4 separate regions of the Homo sapiens genome follow, and all the other regions are linked to region 3. The links are contacts of gene promoters, found by promoter capture Hi-C in blood cells and fetal thymus (Javierre and others, 2016). All regions are on one chromosome and are shown on one strand. Each heading gives the region's core, a stretch centred on a gene start or on the middle of the fragment in contact. The rest is flanking DNA. Distances are from core to core; before and after follow the strand shown. Region 1 has its middle 150 kb from the start of LINC00621. Region 2 has its middle 120 kb from the start of LINC00621. Region 3 holds the start of FGF9 (fibroblast growth factor 9). Region 4 has its middle 110 kb from the start of LINC00621.

Region 1 (2,902 bases), core at 119-2,618, 1.1 Mb after region 3:
TTTAACACACTAAAAAGTTGGAAAAAATTTTGGAAAATTTGAAAAAAAAATTAAAGCACATATAAGGTTTATCCTGAGAGATAAATTTTGCTTTCCCCAAACTTACCTAAAAATATAAACAGTGTAGAGAATCAATTGCAGTATAATTCAAATTGAAGAGGTAAGTTCTAAATACATACTCCATGCCTTGTTCTGTGTCAAGTACTAGATATATGAAGATAAATATTTCTGACATGCAAGAATGTCAATCTACTATAGAACTTATAGCACTTGTTACAGAATCTAGACTAAAGAATTACACAGAGACACTGTTTATTGTTTGGACAATTAATTTTGTAATAGTAAAAGCAATCCTACATTGAGCACCTATTATAAGTCAGTTAGTTTTCCTATGTTATCTCATCTTTCCAACAATACTGTCAGATTGAGATGATCATTCCCGCTTTACAGGTGTGGAAAGTGGGACTTCAACAGTTAGTTAGCAAGTCTCAAGTCCCAAATTAGGTTGTGGTGGAGCTGGCTTTCCAACCCATTTTTTTGTTAGTTTTTTTTTTTTGTTTTGTGTTTTTTTGTTTTTTGTTTTTTGTTTTTAAGACAGAGTCTTGCTCTGTCGCCCAGGCTGAAGTGCAGTGGCACGATCTCGGCTCACCACAAGCTCCGCCTCCCGGGTTCACGCCATTCTCCTGCCTCAGCCTCCCGAGTAGCTGGGACTACAGGGGCCCGCCAGCACGCCCGGCTAATTTGTTTGTATTTTTAGTAGAATGGGGTTTCACGGTGTTATCCAGGATGGTCTCGAGCTCCTGACCTCGTGATCCACCCGCCTCGGCCTCCTAAAGTGCTGGGATTACAGGCATGAGCCACCGCGCCCGGCCAGTTTTGGTTTAATTTTAACACTTATGCCTTTCTCATGACACCAAATGACATCCCTAGAAAATTAATTAAATTTCACCTGCTTAGTCTCATCTCCCCAAATACACAGTGAGCTATAGATTACTGTCACATTCCCATGAAATGCATCCTCACAGGGAGGGCAATTATCACTGGGTACCATGGCTGACTCATCTGCAATATTTTGGGGTGGACAACCTTTACATCACCCAAATCACAGCACAGAGAGGTTACTTGCTCTGAAAATGCTTGGCTATCTTGCTAAAGATTTGTCTAAGCAGTCAGTAATAATCTCTGCGGAATTACAAAGCAATTTCTTCTGATGTTTCCATCAGAGACTTCTCTCTGTCAACATTCTACGCCATTAAATCACAAGCAAGGATAATGGTACCAGATTTCACTTTGGTTGTAAGTAGAATAATAAATGGTCTCCTTAAATGGGTGAGAACTATGTGTGTACGTGTGTGTGTGTGTGTGTGTGTGTGTGTGTGTGTGTTTCAAAGAAATCTTTCAGTGTGTTTATTCTTTGAAAAGAATTCTTGGTACTTCTTGCCAAGGCTTTGGGGTTTCTATCTTGAACAAAAGTAACTTGACTTTCACACGGGTTTGCAGGAGGTCTGAGCACTTAATTACAGTCCATTATCCGCTTTCATTATCTTTCCTCCTGCCTGAATGAGCTCAACAATTTCCAGACATTACTACTTTCATACAATTTTTCATTTTCTCTAATGTCATCATTTTATCACCAAGTTTTTGATCTTTACAGTTCATCTAAGTTTTATACTTTCAGAGAGGCACTTCATTGTAAAAGCACCTTAATTTTTTTCCAGCTTAAAATTTAACTCTTGCTTTACCTTATATTTCCTTTTCATCAAAGTATTTGATTTCTTTTAAAAACATATTAAAATATAATTCCTTGAAACTAATTAGAAAATGTCTCCTTGTACCCAACCTAATTTGGATATACTAAAAATGTGAACATTGTGCTAACTCATTTTCCTCTTTTTGGACAATAATAAATATTCCATAGGAGAAAATGTTGTATAGATATCAAAGAGGTGTCTATAAATACTCTTCCCAGACACTAACATCGACTCCTGTCTAGACAGATTCATTTTAAACTAGTTTTGAAGCCATCTAACTCTACTAATATGCATTCCTTCCAGAGTCCTCCAACCTATTATAAAATCATTCAACTCAGTGATTCTCCAGGAAGGTGACCTTAACCCACCAGAGTCTTGATATCTACTCGGGTTGTTATCTTATCTGAGAATTACACTTAAATTTGGTTGAGATGACCTTTTTTAAACAAAGTTGATTGGCTTATACTTAGTATGTTATGGTATTCAGGCACTAATTCACCATTTCCCCTAGAATGTTTTGAAGTATTTGCCCTGATATGTTAAGCAGCATTGTATTTTTATTTAAAGAGGATTCTAGCATCCCTTCCTTGCCAATTCTTCAGAATAACAGGTTATTAATATTTGGAGATAGTGTGTTCCCATAGAGGGATGCCAAAAATGTTAATAGAGAACTATGAAAATATGCATACGTAGGTGTGTGTACACACACAAGTGTAAAAAAAGAGGAATAAAGAAAGAACATGAGACTACAACTCACTACAACACAAGCTATACATTTCAAATAGCAGACTACAACAATACACTAACACTGTGCACAACAAAGAAAGTAAAATTTATGGGAAGTTCCCCCTTACATTTGCAAATGATTGTTGCGATATTAAAGAAAACTTTTAAGCTGCAGAAAGCAAATTATACTGCATTTCAAATTGTAATATTTAATTGCTGAAACATTTGAGCCTCAGAGATAATCTGCACCAAAGAGAATCCGTGCCCTTTTCATGAAGAGAATTGAGCAGAATTCACCTAATCTATACAGATATAGAATATATACCTTTTTATTTTTTAATTTTTTATCTTTTATTATTTTTTCTTTTGAGACAGAATCTGTCTTTGTCACCCAGGCTAGAGTGCAGTGGCGCCATCTCAGCTCA
Region 2 (2,977 bases), core at 164-2,663, 1.1 Mb after region 3:
CAATTTAATGGGTTTTAATATATTTACAAAGTTTTCCAACCATCACCATAATCTGTTTTAGAACATTTTTATTGTCCCAGAAAGAAATGTACCAATTAGCAGTCACTCCTCATTCTCCCTGACTCCAGCCCTCAGCAACAAGTAATATACTTTCTGCCTCTAAAGAATTGAGTAGTTCATGTAAGTGGGCTTTTTTCAAAACCACCACATGCTGTATGAACTCAAGGACATAGTACTAAGGGCTTCTTTCCCTGATCACAATGTCTTTGAGTTCCATTCATGTTGCAGCATGTATCAGTACTTAAATCCTTTAAATTACCAAATAATATTCCATTGTGTGGATGTACCACATTTGTGTACCCAGCCATCAGTTGAAATTTTAGCCACTGAAGAAGTGCAAACAAAACCACAAGATAACACTACATATCCACTAAATGACTATATTTAAAAAGACAGGCAATAGCAAGTGTTGGGAACATGTGGAAAAACTGGATTCTTCATGCTTTGTTGGCAAGAACGTAAAATTATACAACCTCTTTGTAAAAGAGTATAGCAGTTCTTCAGAACGTTACCTACCCAGTTACCATACCATCCTCAACTCCACTCCCAGTGTACGTTCAAGAGATACGAAAACGTACGTCCACATAAAGACATGTACATGAATGTTTGTAGCAACACCATGCATATTAGTGAACATTTATTTTACACGCCTTTTTTACAAACATATTTCTAATATAAAATTTGATATGTCTAAATTCTATGCAACTTACCAAATATCCCATGTGACAGAATATGTTTCAGGGAAGCTTTGGAGAGGTATATTGTGATATAACATAGCCTGGTATCAATTATCAGTTTCTTGAAGAACAAACAGCTTTTTCTCTTGCTTGTTTTTGTTTTGATTTTAAATCTCATCAGGGAAGCATCATTAAAGTAGAATTTCTATTTTCTGAAAAAGCCCTCATCAGCCATTATTAAGTAGAATGGTGTCACTAAATATGACAACATAAAGAAGCATGTTACTATTATTATTATTTTGATGAGAGAGTACTTTGTCTTTGATACTTTAGCCAGAGTTACATTCTTCATCTTCAGAGAGCTCCCCTCTTGATTTTAGTGCCCTAGTAGGTCACCAAGTCAGCAAGCTCTGAAGACATCTAAGTTGCCTACACGTTTTTCATTTCTTGCTTATTTTCACTTCGTTTCTCACAGCCATTGCTCTATCTGCCTTTGTGTGTTGCTTGAGCAAGGCTGCAGGCTTCTTAAAGATTGCATTCCAATGACTCTGCTTTCTCCTTATGTCTACCTCAGGGTCAGGGCGTTCCAAGGTCAGGAAGAAAAGGGAGGAATAATTGTATACTGAAAAATATAAACAGACCTGTTTTGCTGGGGTACTCAGAAATAAGGTAAGGAGGTGCCGCTGCAGAGAGCAGAAATGGGTAAATTCCATCGGTCCATTTCATCCACAGTTTAACCTCTTCCTGATCAGATCAGTCAGTTCCCACTGCTTTTCGTTTTTAGTGAAGCACAGTTTTACAAGACGATCTTAGGGACTTGGGACATAAAACTTGAAAAGCATTCTCAATGGTAAAAATTACATGCATTTTTGTGAATGTGTCAGTCACTCCTTCCTTGTACCCTACACGTGCCTAGACTAGTGCCAGGCACACAGCAGTTTCTCAATACATGTCTTTAAAACTTATGAACTCCAAAAATGAGGAGAAAAGCTGAAGCTGGAGACAGGAACATATTCTGCAAGTCCTAGGATTAAAATAGGAGAGTGAAGTGATCGGGTTTGGGTTTCAGAAGGAATTCTCCTGTCTCAGTGTTGAAGATGGGTTGGAGAAGAACAAAGGTAAGACCATCTATGTAGAGAAAATGCACTTTTTGCCTAAACCAGAGGAATAAGGAGGAAGAGGTGGCATTCTACAGATGTGAAGGCAATTTATCTGTGAAGCTGAGGGACTCGGGATGTGGAGGGAGAAAGGGAGGGAAGCACCCAAGATTGTTGTGCAGGAGCTAAGCTTAGCTGGGGACCACGGGAGGCGCCTTTACCTGGGGCGGGACCTTCCTTAGGTGGGGGTTGAGGAAGAAGCGGCCAGGCTTGGCTTCCATCGAGGTTTCTGTATCTGGGTGATACCTGGTGATGTGTCGACAGGCAGTGGGTTAAGAAGGCCTCAATTTCAGGAAAGGACTATGGCCTGGTCACATACATTAGCGAGCTGTCTACATAGAGGTGGCAGTTTACATCTTGAGAATGGTTGCTTCCAGGAAAAGAGTATAGGATGAGAAAAGCAGTAGGAATGAAGAATGAAAGCCCCGCCTCAGGCGTGGGTGAAACCTTTTACCATAACCAGAGGTGCTGGGCCATTGGGAAAATGTGTCATTATTAATAAAGCTTCCGCCACCCCTCTTCTGGGTTGAATTTTTCCCCCCATCAAACATCCTATGTTGAGGTCCTAACCCCCAACACCTCAGAATGGGGCCCTGTTTGGAAAGAGGTTCCTTAGAGGTAATCAGTCAAGACGACGTCACACTGGAGTAGGATGGGCCCCTAATCTAACACGACTGTGTTCTTATAAAAAGAAGGCCAGGTGAAGAAGCCGACACACAGGAGAACGCTGCATGGAGACTGGAGTTCTGCTGCCAAGGAATCGGTGGAAGCCAGGAAAGAGCCTGCAACAGATCCTTCCGCCGCACCTCCAGAAGAAGCACAGCCCTGGGGACTGCTGGATCTTACACTTCTGGCTTCCAGAACAGTGAGTCAATACATTTCTGTTGTTTTAGCGGCTCAGTTTGCGGTCCTTTGTTGTGCCGACTCCAGGAAACTGGACAATCCCCATGCCGTGCAAAGCAAACGTTATATTCTAACCTTCAGTAATACACCCTCTCCCAAGTCCTGACATTTTTCTTTTTCTTTGATCTTTGCTCCCTGATTCTCAGAGGTTCCTGGATGGGCAGGTCATTCCGTGTGTAC
Region 3 (2,966 bases), core at 22-2,521:
TCTAAGACAATGTGAACAAAGAGGAGCAGGGGGAGGGAAGGGGGGCCCCGCGGGAGGGCTGTGGGCGAGTGTGTGTGTGTGTGTGTGTGTGTGTGTGTGTGTGTGTGTGTTGGGGGGCGCCGCGCTCCGCGCCCGCCGCCACTGGGGATCCGGGCGCAGGCAGGCTGTCCCGGGCGCAGAGCGCGCCGCCTCCAGTCTCTCTGGCGGGCCCGGCCCGGCAGGGCCCCTGGCGGCCCCCGGAGGCGGGTTTCTTTGTCCCTGACTCCCGCTGGGCGCGAAGGCCGCCGGCGGCTAACAGAAACCCGAGCCCGCGCAACGGAGCTCAGGCTTCCACGTGCGGCCCCGCAGGGCAGAGCAGGAAGGAGCGGCTGCAGCCCCGGGGCGCCCCGCAAGCATCCAGTGCCCGGCCCTCCCAGCTCCGCGGCGGGCTTCGGACGGTGGAGTGAGACACCAGAACTCGCCTTTCGCTTCCCCGAGCCGATGCACGGCTTGGGATGGCGCCGCTCGTCCTAAGCAGCGTGGTTTGAGGGCGAGAAGACGCCTACTGGAGCGCTCCCCTCCACCCAGACTCCCGAAGACGCGCGCCCGAGTCGAAGTCGGGGACAGAGAAGGTTCTCTGGCGCCCCCCTGCCGACTGCTTTGCGGCCGCCGGGACCCGAGCAGCGGGGCGGGACCTAAACATAGCCCCAACCCAAAGATGCCCAGCAGAACGCTCCAAACAAAACAGAAACGGTGGCCGCATCTGCGTGTGTGTGTGTGTGTGTGTGTGTGACGGGGGAGAGGAGTTGATCTTACCTGAAACATAGTTTGCGCTTCTGTGTGTGTGGCCGAAGAATGGAAGAGAAACTGCCATGGCCATCCGAGTCCATTAAATCAACTCCCCTTCCCTCCGACTCTCTCAACTCAGTCATATTCTATAATACAACGCAAGGTTACAGAGCCCCAGTGAAAACTAGTTTCCCAGTTTCACTCTGACCCTCCATCAATGTAGCCAGCCAGCTAGATTGTAGGTTACCGGCTTCTATTCTGCAGGAGAACTTTGAGTCTCGGGAGACTCAGGGTTTCTTCCTCCCGCCTCTCGCAGTGCATCTTTCATTTGCTTTTCTTTGTAAAGCCAGGGCTCCTCGACTGCCTCCCAGGAAGTCCTGCGCTCTGGCGCGCCGCACCTCGCCTGCCGCAGAGCGGCGCGGGCAGTAAGCCGGGCGCTAGGACCGCGGGGAGCCCGGGCTGCGGCGGCGCTACCTTAAACCCAGCCCAATGCCGCTGCCTGCGCCACTCTGCGCGCCGGCGGGGGCTGCGCAGGAGGAGCGCTCCGCCCGGCTACAACGCTCCGCGAGCCGGCGCGGCAACACCTGTTCGCGGCAGCCTGGGCGGCACGCGAGCTCCCGGACGCGGCTCTCCTCGCTCGCCGCTCGCCACCCGTTCTAAGCCAATGGACATCTGCCGAGCCTCTGGAGAATCCTGGATACTAGCTTTGGACGCCTAAAGTTTCTTCTTCTTTTTGTTTTATTATTATTATCATTTTTTGGAGGGGGGACCGGGAGGGGAGATTTGTCGCCGCCACCAACGTGAGATTTTTTTTTCCCCTTGAAGGATTCATGCTGATGTCTGCAGAGTCGGTTAGAGAGTAAAAACAGCGCATGCCTTCCTGGAGTCAGGATCCGTAAATTCTGACGTAGCCCGTGCATCTTAAAAATCCCTATAATAACGCCTAGGCATTTAAGTTGCTATGGTCATTCTGATCTCAAACCAAATGGAGAAACTACGGATTTTTTTTCCTTATTACGGTCGGATGGGATGAAGACCTTCCTGCCTGCTAAGAGCTGGGGATCTATCTATAGAGATACATAGATATGTTTATCAATATGTCAGTGTGTGAGTATAAAGTGGTGGTTTCTTAGACTATCAGTGGTTTGACCTTGAACCTGTGCCAGTGAAACAGCAGATTACTTTTATTTATGCATTTAATGGATTGAAGAAAAGAACCTTTTTTTTCTCTCTCTCTCTGCAACTGCAGTAAGGGAGGGGAGTTGGATATACCTCGCCTAATATCTCCTGGGTTGACACCATCATTATTGTTTATTCTTGTGCTCCAAAAGCCGAGTCCTCTGATGGCTCCCTTAGGTGAAGTTGGGAACTATTTCGGTGTGCAGGATGCGGTACCGTTTGGGAATGTGCCCGTGTTGCCGGTGGACAGCCCGGTTTTGTTAAGTGACCACCTGGGTCAGTCCGAAGCAGGGGGGCTCCCCAGGGGACCCGCAGTCACGGACTTGGATCATTTAAAGGGGATTCTCAGGCGGAGGCAGCTATACTGCAGGACTGGATTTCACTTAGAAATCTTCCCCAATGGTACTATCCAGGGAACCAGGAAAGACCACAGCCGATTTGGTAGGTATACCATTAACCCTTTAGTGTCCATGAGATGACATGTTGAAATTATAACTACCAAGAAGGTGGTGGCCGGGTGGGGGACGTGGGAAGGGTTCTCCCCTCCTCCCCTCTTTCTCTGTATCTCTGTCTCTCTCTCTCTCTGTCTTGCCAGCTCCGAAAAAAAAATGCCTCCGGAATTGCAGATCTGCTGCTGGCACTGATGCAAGTATACACTGAAAGGCCCCCTACTTTTAATTTAAAGGGGGGCATAATTTATAAATATAATACAAGTTTCCAGTTCTTTTGCATCAGATACACGGGTTTAGGAAGTTTCTTTTGAATGGACTGATTGCACGAGTTTAAAGCTTTAATCATTAACTACTAAGAACTTAATGCAGTTTCTTGAAGGCAGTGGGTATCTTGTGCCCAAATTAAGGTTTTTTTCCTTTCCCCCTTTCCTCTAGTAAGTATACTACTTGAATTGTATATTAAGTGCATTGTTTATTCTCCCCTGTGAGGGTCTGAAAGCCCCATAGGCGAAGGTTGCTGACGGATTGTCCTGTTGGGAGGACTAAAGTCATATTTTAGGCTCCGTG
Region 4 (2,889 bases), core at 14-2,513, 1.1 Mb after region 3:
GAAATGTGGAATATACACGCAACATAATGTTAGCCTTAAAAAAGAAGAAAATCCTGTCATTTGTGACAACATGGATAAAACTGAAAGACACTATGTTAAATGAAATAAGCCAGACACAAAAAAATACTGCTTGATCTCACTTCTATGTGGAATCTAAAAAAGCTGAACTCAGATGTAGAAAATAGAAGGAGATTAGCAAGGGTTGGGGTTTGGGGAGAGGTTGGGGTGATGCTGGTCAAAGGATACAAAATTTCAGTTAGGAAGAATAAGGTCAAGAGACCTATTGTACAAGATTGTGACTATAGTCAATATTGTGTTGTATTTTTTAAAATTACTAAGAATTGCTAGATTTTAAGTGTCCTCACCACAAAATAAAATGTGAGGTAATGCACATGTTAATTAGCTCAATTTAGCCATTCAAAAATGTGTGTATATATATATATATATTTCAAAACATCATGTTGTACATAATTATATACAATTTTGTCAATTAAAAATAAATAAGTAAATAAGAAATGTGTACCAAAAAACAGGAAGAAAGAACAAAGGGTGTACACTATCTGATTTCAAGACATACTATAAAGCTACCCTAGTCAGGACAGTGTGACACTGGAATAAAGATGGACAAGTATAGTTCAATGGAGCAGAATATACAGTGCAGAAGTAAATTCACACTTATGAGGTTAACTAATTTCCAACAAAGGCTGATTTCCAACAAAGGCACTGAAATAATTCAATGAGCAAAGGGAAATCTTTTTAATAAATACTTTGGAAAAAATGAATAGCTACAAGGGAAAGCTAAAATAAAATTCAACCTCTATCTCACAGAGTATACAAAAGTTAATTCAAGATGGATCACAAACCCAACATAATAACTAAAACTTTAACATTTTGAGGGGGAAAAAAACATGAGAGAAGTTCTTTGTAGCCAAATAGATATTTCTTGGACTCAACACAGAAATTACTAATTATAAAGGCAAAATAATTACAAGTTGGATTACATTCAAATAAAAAAGCTTCTGTTAATCAAAAAACATACTCCTAAGAAAATGAGTAGGCAAGTAACAGAGAAAATGGGAGAAAATGTATGCAAAACATTTATCTGACAAAGAACTGTTATCCCAAATACACAAAAGATAGCTACAACTCCGTGAAAAAGATAAACAACCCAATTTTAAAATATGCAAAAGACTCGATAAACACTTTAAAATGGAAGACATACAAATAGCCAAAACGCATATGAAAAGATAGTCAACATTATTCATCATTTGAAAAATGCATATAAAAGCACGATATACCACTATGCTACCAGAATGTAGAAAATTGAAAAAAAAACAACAGGGGCTGTATGTAGAGCAAACAGCAATCTCATACATTAATAGTTGTTATATGAAAATAGTACAGCCACTTTGAAAACATTTGTGGCAGTGTCTTATAAAATAAACCTTTACCTATACTCTGGCCCGACAACTCCACACCGAAATATTTCGCAAAAAAAAAGTATGTTAACAAAGCTTGAACAACAAGATTTATAGCAACTTTATTTATTATGTCTCAAACAACTAAAATGTTCATTAACCAGAGATCAGATTTTAAAGTTGTAGTACATTTCTATTTTTTTTTTTTTTTTTTTTTTGAGACTAAGTGTCGCTCTTGTACCCCAGGCTGGAGTGCAATGGCGCAATCTCAGCTCACTGCAACAAACGCCTCCCAGGTTCAAGCGATTCTCTTGCCTCAGCCGCCCAAGTAGCTGGGATTACATGTGCCTGCCACCACACTTGGCTAATTTTTGTATTTTTTATTTACTTATTTATTTTTAGACGGAGTTTTGCTCTTGTTGCCCAGGCTGGAGTGCAACGGCGCAATCTCGGCTCACCGCAATCTCGGCTCACCGCAACCTCCACCTCCTGGGTTCAAGTGATTCTCCTGTCTCAGCGTCCCTAGTAGCTGGGACTACAGGCATGCGCCAACACGCCCGACTAATTTTGTATTTTTAGTAGAGATGGGGTTTCTCCATGTTGGTCAGGCTGGTCTTGAACTCCCAACCTCAGGTGATCCGCCTGCCTCAGCCTCCCAAAATGTTGGGATTACAGGCATGAGCCACTGTGCCCGGCCTCCTAATTTTTGTATTTTTAGTAGAGACGAGGTTTCACCATGTTGGCCAGGCTGGTCTTGAACTCCTGACCTCAGGTGATCCACCTGCCTTGACCTCCCAAAGTGCTGGGATTACAGGCATGAGCCATCGCGCCTGGCCAAAATTGTTGTACATTTCTAGAATGGAATATTACCAAAGAAGAAATACTATTGCTACATGCAACAATATAGATTTAACAAGCTACACACACAAATATGATGCTAGCTACCTGAAATTCTAGGTTATAAAAAACTATGGTTAAAAAAACCAGAAATTGTGTTTTGCTCTTGAGAGAAGGAATTAACTGGGGAGAGGCTCGAGAAACATCCTGTAATGATAGAAAATTTCTATATCTTGGTTAAGATAATAAACAAACAACCCCATTAAAAAGTGGACAAAGGACATGAACAAACACTTTTCAAAAGATGATATACAAGTGGCCAAAAAGCATATGAAAAAAGCTCATCATCACTAACTATTAGAGAAATGCAAATCAAAACCACAATAAGATACCATCTCACACCAGTCAGAATGACTATTATTAAAAAGTCAAAGAATAACAGATGCTGGTGAGGTTGCAGAGAAAGGGAAGACTTATACACTACTGGTGGGAGTGTAATTAGTTCAACTATTGTGGGAAGCAGTGTGGTGACTCCTCAAGTAACTAACAAGAGAACTACCATTCAACTGAGCAATCCTACTATTGTGTATATTCAAAAGAATACAAATTGTTCTACCATAAAGACACATGCATG

What was found. The method cuts DNA at HindIII sites, captures the fragments that hold promoters and counts their contacts. A CHiCAGO score of 5 or more calls a contact.
Region 1: a fragment that was not itself captured here is called in contact with the fragment with the promoter of FGF9 in region 3 in 2 of 17 cell types (erythroblasts and M2 macrophages); the score reaches 7.0 in erythroblasts.
Region 2: a fragment that was not itself captured here is called in contact with the fragment with the promoter of FGF9 in region 3 in 5 of 17 cell types (M0 macrophages, M1 macrophages, M2 macrophages and 2 more); the score reaches 10.7 in M0 macrophages.
Region 4: a fragment that was not itself captured here is called in contact with the fragment with the promoter of FGF9 in region 3 in 4 of 17 cell types (M2 macrophages, M1 macrophages, M0 macrophages and 1 more); the score reaches 8.8 in M2 macrophages.

What each region holds. Positions count from the first base shown.
Region 1 is chr13:22,762,086-22,764,987 of GRCh38, forward strand. No RefSeq gene overlaps it. Among named protein-coding and RNA genes, the nearest start is that of LINC00621, 150 kb to the right of the region's middle. The HindIII fragment of the contact is 4,450 bases long and covers 1-2,902 here.
Region 2 is chr13:22,790,947-22,793,923 of GRCh38, forward strand. No RefSeq gene overlaps it. Among named protein-coding and RNA genes, the nearest start is that of LINC00621, 120 kb to the right of the region's middle. The HindIII fragment of the contact is 1,218 bases long and covers 805-2,022 here.
Region 3 is chr13:21,669,802-21,672,767 of GRCh38, forward strand. It overlaps FGF9 (fibroblast growth factor 9), which reads left to right and starts at 1,272. Exons shown (of 3, transcript NM_002010.3): 1 at 1,272-2,388. The coding sequence starts at 2,112. RefSeq lists silencers at 90-349, 1,130-1,179, 1,200-1,259. The HindIII fragment of the contact is 3,792 bases long and covers 1-2,733 here.
Region 4 is chr13:22,807,220-22,810,108 of GRCh38, forward strand. No RefSeq gene overlaps it. Among named protein-coding and RNA genes, the nearest start is that of LINC00621, 110 kb to the right of the region's middle. The HindIII fragment of the contact is 498 bases long and covers 1,015-1,512 here.